2 separate regions of the Homo sapiens genome follow, and region 1 is linked to region 2. Evidence: promoter capture Hi-C in 16 types of primary human blood cells and fetal thymus (Javierre and others, 2016). All regions are on one chromosome and are shown on one strand. The core of a region is centred on a gene start or on the middle of the fragment in contact, and the rest is flanking DNA. Distances in the headings are between cores, read along the strand shown. Region 1 overlaps COPG1 (coat protein complex I subunit gamma 1). Region 2 holds the start of ACAD9 (acyl-CoA dehydrogenase family member 9).

The links. The method cuts DNA at HindIII sites, captures the fragments that hold promoters and counts their contacts. A CHiCAGO score of 5 or more calls a contact.
Region 1: a contact is called between a fragment that was not itself captured here and the fragment with the promoter of ACAD9 in region 2, in 3 of 17 cell types (naive CD8 T cells, non-activated CD4 T cells and naive CD4 T cells). The highest score is 5.9, in naive CD8 T cells.

What each region holds. Positions count from the first base shown.
Region 1 is chr3:129,250,878-129,254,017 of GRCh38, forward strand. It overlaps COPG1 (coat protein complex I subunit gamma 1), which reads left to right. Exons shown (of 24, transcript NM_016128.4): 3 at 1,404-1,484; 4 at 1,746-1,817; 5 at 1,999-2,078. Among named protein-coding and RNA genes, the nearest start is that of COPG1, 2.8 kb to the left of the region's middle. The HindIII fragment of the contact is 221 bases long and covers 1,276-1,496 here.
Region 2 is chr3:128,878,056-128,881,149 of GRCh38, forward strand. It overlaps ACAD9 (acyl-CoA dehydrogenase family member 9), which reads left to right and starts at 1,565. Exons shown (of 18, transcript NM_014049.5): 1 at 1,565-1,786. The coding sequence starts at 1,637. It overlaps ACAD9-DT (ACAD9 divergent transcript), which reads right to left and starts at 1,381. Exons shown (of 3, transcript NR_186174.1): 1 at 1,081-1,381. RefSeq lists enhancers at 435-1,286, 1,142-1,691, 1,287-2,139, 1,752-1,831, 2,140-2,991. The HindIII fragment of the contact is 10,907 bases long and covers 1-3,094 here.

The DNA of each region.
Region 1 (3,140 bases), core at 136-2,635, 370 kb after region 2:
CTTTGTTTCTGGAGAGAGTTAGTTATGCTTACTTCTTTTTTTTTTTTTTTTTTTTTTTTTTTCTGAGACAGAGTCTTGCTCTGTCGCTCAGGCTGGAGTGCAGTGGCGTGATCTCGGCTCACTGCAAGCTCCGCCTTCCAGGTTCACGCCATTCTCCTGCCTCAGCCTCCCAAGTAGCTGGGACTACAGACGCCCGCCACCACACCCGGCTAATTTTTTGTATTTTTAGTAGAGACGGGGTTTCACCGCGTTAGCCAGGACGGTCTTGATCTCCTGACCTCGTGATCCACCCGCCTCGGCCTCCCAAAGTGCTGGGATTACAGGCTTGAGCCACCGCGCCTGGCCTCTCTATTTAAACATTTAAAAAATTTCTCTATTTAAAGTTAATTCCAAAGCTAAGGAAACTGGTTTAAAACTATCACCTAAGCTAGACTGTGGCCATTATGCAGGTAGAGATTTTGCATGACTTGTTTATTTTTATTATATATATTTTTTATATATATATATATATGTATTTTTTTTTAGAAGGCGTCTCACTCTGTTGCTCAGGCTGGAGTGCAGTGGCACGATCTCGGCTCAACTGCAACCTCTGCCTCCTGGGTTCAAGCAATTTTTCTGTCTCAGCCTCCCAAGTAGCCGGGACTACAGGCGCACGCCACTATGCCTGGCTGATTTTTATATTTTTAGTAGAGATGAGGTTTCACGATGTTGGCCAGGCAGGAGAATGGTGTGAATCCTGACCTCTTGATCCTCCCGCCTCGGCCTCCCAAAGTGCTGGGATTATAAGCGTGAGCCACCGCGCCCGGCCACTTCTCTTTTTTTTTTTGAGATGGAGACTTGCTGGTGTCAGCCTGGGGTGGAGTGCAATGGCATGATCTTGGCTTGCTGCAACCTCCGCCTCCTGGGTTCCAGCAATTCTCCTGCCTCGGCCTCCCGAGTAGCTGAGATTACAGGTGCCCACCACCATGCCTGGCTAAGTTTTGTATTTTTAGTACAGACGGGGTTTCACCATGTTGGCCAGGCTGGTCTCGAACTGACCTCAGGTGATCCACCCGCCTCGGCCTCCCAAAGTGCTAGGATTACAGGTGTGAGCTACTGCGTCCAGCCGCTTCTTTCTTTATTGTTGTCGTTCATTGTTTCTGTTTCCAGTTAGCAGATGGTTGCTAAGTATCTGCTAGTCAATAGGTTAGCACATCCCTAACTAATATTTACACGAGAGTCTAAGAATAATTAGTAGTTGATTAAAGAAAAACAAACCCTTTCCTTATGAAAATAAGCTTGTTGCATACCCAGAAAGCCCTGTTTAGACAAGTCAGTTTACCCTGAGACTTCTCAGACATTGAATATACTTGAAGGGAAATGAACTAGGCTAGAAGGTAACATCTTTGGTCATTTCTTCTTAGGCCCGTGTATTTAATGAAACTCCCATCAACCCTCGGAAATGTGCCCACATCCTCACCAAGATTCTTTATCTCATAAACCAGGTAACAGGGTGAAGCTTGCGGGTAGGGAGAATGGTGCTGGGGGATTGGAGGGGAGTGGACAAATCATGATCACTCTTAGGCTATTGGACAGCCTCTGTGTGGCTGTAGACAACAGCTCAGCTCTGGGTCCCCTCAGCATCCAAGTCTCATATGTTGCCCTTGAGCCTCTTTAGGGTCTGGGGATCTGGTGTGGGCTGATCCTGAAAGAACTGCTGTCTGACCCTCTGTCCCAAGCTGAGACTTCTTTCTTGATTAACACAGGGGGAGCACCTGGGGACCACGGAAGCGACCGAGGCCTTCTTTGCCATGACCAAGCTCTTTCAGTCCAATGATGTAAGTGCCTCAACCCAGCTTTCCTTGAGAGGTGGCAGCTGTAACAAGGTGGTGGGAGGGCCAAAGAGAGCTGGCCCCACCAGTCAGTGTGGGCTGCCTTTGTGGAGACAGGAGGTATCTTCTCCCAACTCTGGCCCTTGGTGAGCCCGGGCTGATAGGGCTTTTCCCACCTATCTCCCAGCCCACACTCCGTCGGATGTGCTACTTGACCATCAAGGAGATGTCTTGCATTGCAGAGGATGTCATCATTGTCACCAGCAGGCAAGTCATGGGGTTGTGGGTGGCTCTTCTGATGGGTTCCATTGACAGACCATTTTTTTCTTGTGTGTACCAGACAGTGAGACTTGGTTGCATATTGCCAGCTGCCCACCCCGTGGCAGCTTCCCTGTTACCACTGCCCACCCCATGGCAGCCTCCAGGTGTGCTGTTTCTATTTTAATTCTCTGACCTTGACTTGGACACAAATGCTTCCTTTTCTTGATTTCTCTTAGTCAACCAAACCAGCTTAGAACTTTCCCAAAGACTTTCTTGAGTATAAAGAGAGAACACAAGAAAAATAAACAAGAGAGTACAAGCGGTATACTGCTTACTAAGTGACTGGTGTCTGCTTTAAGCTAAGCAATTCAGGGACAGATGTGACTAAAGTGTAATCACTGCCCTTAAGAACTGGGGCTCAGTTCTCTTATTTCTTCCTGCCACAGTTTAAGGTTGTGGGGGTCATACATTGATTTGTAGGTTCAGTTAGAAAATATTGTCTGTCAGTCCCTGTGTGTAGCTCTGGGGATATAGCAACAAAAAAGATAGACATGGCCTCTGTAGCCCCAGAATTTACAGAGAAATAACCAGGCATCAGGCCATTAAGGTAGGGTGTAATATAGTTTATCACGGAAGTATTATGGGCTATGAGAGCAGACCAGAAGAGCATCCAGCTTGATTAGAATTACGAAAGTCCTCCCAGAGGAATGATCTAAGTGGAGTCCTGAAGGATGAGTAAGAAATAGTAGGACAGGACAGGCGCAGTGGCTCATGCCTGTAATCCCAGCACTGTATCCACAATGTAATCCACAGACTGCGATGGGTGGATCACTTGAGGTCAGGAGTTTGAGACCATCCTGGCCAACATGGTGAAACCCCGTTTCTACTAAAAATACAAAAATTAGCCAGGTGTGGTGGCGCACACCTATAATCCCAGCTACTGGGGAGGCTGAGGCAGGAGAATTGCTTGAACTGGGGAGGTGGAGGTTGCAGTGAGCTGAGATCATGCCACTTACACTCCAGCCTGGGTGACAGAACGAGACTGCGTCTCAAAAAAAAAAAAAAAAA
Region 2 (3,094 bases), core at 315-2,814:
GATTACCGGTCTGGGTGAAAAAGCAGAGTGGCATTCTTCCTGGAGGAGCTGGCTGAAGATCTGTAGAGGGCCCATGTGCCACGTTCAGAGCACTGTTGGGCTGTGAGGTGCCAGGCATGCCCTGCCTCCTACGTGGGCCCCTATGGCCTGGCCTTGAAACCGCCACTGCAAAATTATAACCGAGACAATGAAAGAGATCTGACCTAACCAACTCCATCTTGCTTCTAACCTCCAAGCTGTCCTTGTTCATTCCTGAGCGTAGGCTGAACTAACCTTGGGAAGGAATGAGTTTATAGTTTAACTTCAAAACAAAAATAGCCCTTTCCCGGGAAAACAACAACAACAACAACAAAAAACAACCTCTTCTTGCCTGGGACCAGTTGGCCTTTGGAGGACTAACAAATTAGCTATAAGATTAGAAATTACAGTTTAGAGGCCATACAGCCTTTGGTTGCAAGAGTCTGAACGTCCCCCAAATTGTTCCTGGGAATAACATCACTGTTGTAAAACCTACCAACACCCAGACTGGTAATCTGGCTCAACTAGTTCTGCAATCCCATTCAGGAACAGAAGACAGCAAGAAAAACTCACTTCGGCCCCCTATCAGTCCATCTCCAACCCGACCAATCATGCACCTCCCACTTCCCGAGCTTCTACTCGCCAAATTATCCTTAAAAATTCCGATCCGTTTTTGGGGAGACCGATTTGGCTAATAAAACTCCCTTTCCAACACACCCGGCTCTGCGTGAATTACTCTCTCTCTATTGCAATTTCCGTCTTGATAAATCAGCTGTCTAGTCAGCGGGCTGTAACCTTGGGCGGTTACAGCCTGGCCTGTCCCATCCCATCCAATAGTTCCCATCTCTTCTCAGCTCTCTCTGTAGTTTCTCTTCCTCCGCCTGCCTTTTAAGTTAGTGTTTCCCAGGACAGAGGTGACTCAGTTGTATCCAGACCGCTCTGTGACTGAACACCCACTTTCTTTTCCTTTTCCAAAAAATATATGTAACATACATGTCAACTAGGAACAAAACAGTATCTCAGGAATCCACCATCCAGTTAAAAATGGACCCTTACCCTTACCGTGCCCCTGCAGAGACCCCAATACAGCGCATTTCCCTCATTCTTTTGCTTTTCTCAAGTTTTACCACGGCCTCGTGGCCACAAGTGACAAAAGAGACAAGTGGAGGCAGCTGAGCCGGCCTTTAGGTTTCTGTACACAGGGAGATTTCCCATGGCTGGCATTTATGGAAACAACCGCTGGTATGTGAAAAACAGGTCCGTCACCGCCGTCACGACGGCCAGAGATTATACCCGCCGAGATGCCCGCGGCCCAGGGCCTACAATTTCCTCCGGCCAGCTCCTTTGGCCGCGCAAGCGCAGTGGGGCCGGCGGGAAGCGTAGGCGTGTGACGTCATCAGGCGGCGCGGGCCAGCCAGGTGCACGTGACTAAGGCCTTGGGCGCGGCAGGTGGTAGCCTTCCCGCCCTTCTGGCCTCTCCATCCCCTGCTGCGGGGGACCGCGCAAGCGCAGTGAGTACTGCACGTTGTCGCGGGCCAGTAACGTCATCAGACGTGTGTGTGTCCCTGCGGCGCTAAGAAGGGGAGACTGAGGCTGAGGCTGGGGAACATCGGGCAGCATGAGCGGCTGCGGGCTCTTCCTGCGCACCACGGCTGCGGCTCGTGCCTGCCGGGGTCTGGTGGTCTCTACCGCGAACCGGCGGCTACTGCGCACCAGCCCGCCTGTACGAGCTTTCGCCAAAGAGCTTTTCCTAGGCAAAATCAAGAAGGTAACGCGAGCCCTGGGCGAACCCTTGCTGTCTGGCTCCCGCTTTTCACCCTCAGCTGCAAGACTGGTGTTGAACTTTGTGAGATTCCCCAAACCTGCCAGAGAGATACACCCTGCGGCCGAGGCGTGTTAACACTCCGGATTCCTGAGTTCCAGGAAAACCTTCCCAGAGAAAGGGTGAGACATTTCCAAGACGGGGGACCCTTGGAAATGTGGTGGTGACGTGTTCCAGCTAAATTTTGTCAGGGGAATTCGGAAAACTCTAGGCTAGGTAATTAACAAAGCAGCCTTCATCTCAGCTGGTCTGGTCTGGAAATGTGCGGGGCTTCCTCTCTGATTCCTAAACAGCTTACACCATGTCCCTCCTCAGTCACCTTCCAGCGCCCTGGGGCTTCCTTCCCCAGGTGAGCCCAGCGCCTCTCCCTGCCATTGAGGTTCCTCAGAAATCTGGCTCCAAGATGCTTCCCAAGGGTGGCACAACCCAGCCAATAGTAACAGTTTGGTTATAAAACACTCATTGTCTTCTTAGAGTTGGAAGACTTGGGTTTGGTCTTGGCTCGTTGACTTTGAAACTCAGTTGTTTTTTTTGAGACAGAGTCGCGCTCTTGTCGCCCAGGCTGGAGTGCTCACTGCAACCTCCCTCCTGGGTTCAAGCGATTCTCCTGCCTCAGCCTCCGGAGTAGCTGGGATTACAGGCGCCTGCCCGGCTTTTTTTTTTTTTGTATTTTTAGCAGAGACGGGGTTTCACCATGTTGGCCAAGCTGGTCTAGAACTGACCTCGGGTGATCCGCCCACCTCGGCCTCCCACAGTGCTGGGATTACAGGGGTGAGCCACCGCGCCCGGCCAAGACTCAGTTCTTTCAGCCTTAAAATGGAGATAGTGTTGTGTCTCCTTCACAGATGTGTTGTAGAGCCCCAGTGAGATAAACGGTGCATGGAGAGTCTTCTTAAACTGTAGAGTACTGTGCAGCAGAAGAGAGAGCTGGCTTCAACACTTAGTCTTGTGACCTTGGAGCTGACGGCTGCACCTCCCTGTGCCTCAGTGCATTCATCTACAAAATAGGAATAAACACATTTCTTGCTCTTTCCTTTGTATTTCATTTTATCTTCTAAGGAAACCAACAGTATACTTGCTATTTCGTCGAGGTGCCCTACTTTGAACTTGGCTGAATGTTGGCTGATCCTGTATCACAGAAGTTATTCCCTGGCTTCTCTTTGGAACGTTCCTCTGAGGTTGTCAGGCTGATACCTTTATAGCAAGCAACTTTACAGATGAAGAAGCTAAGACTCAGACTAAAAGCAGTTTGCC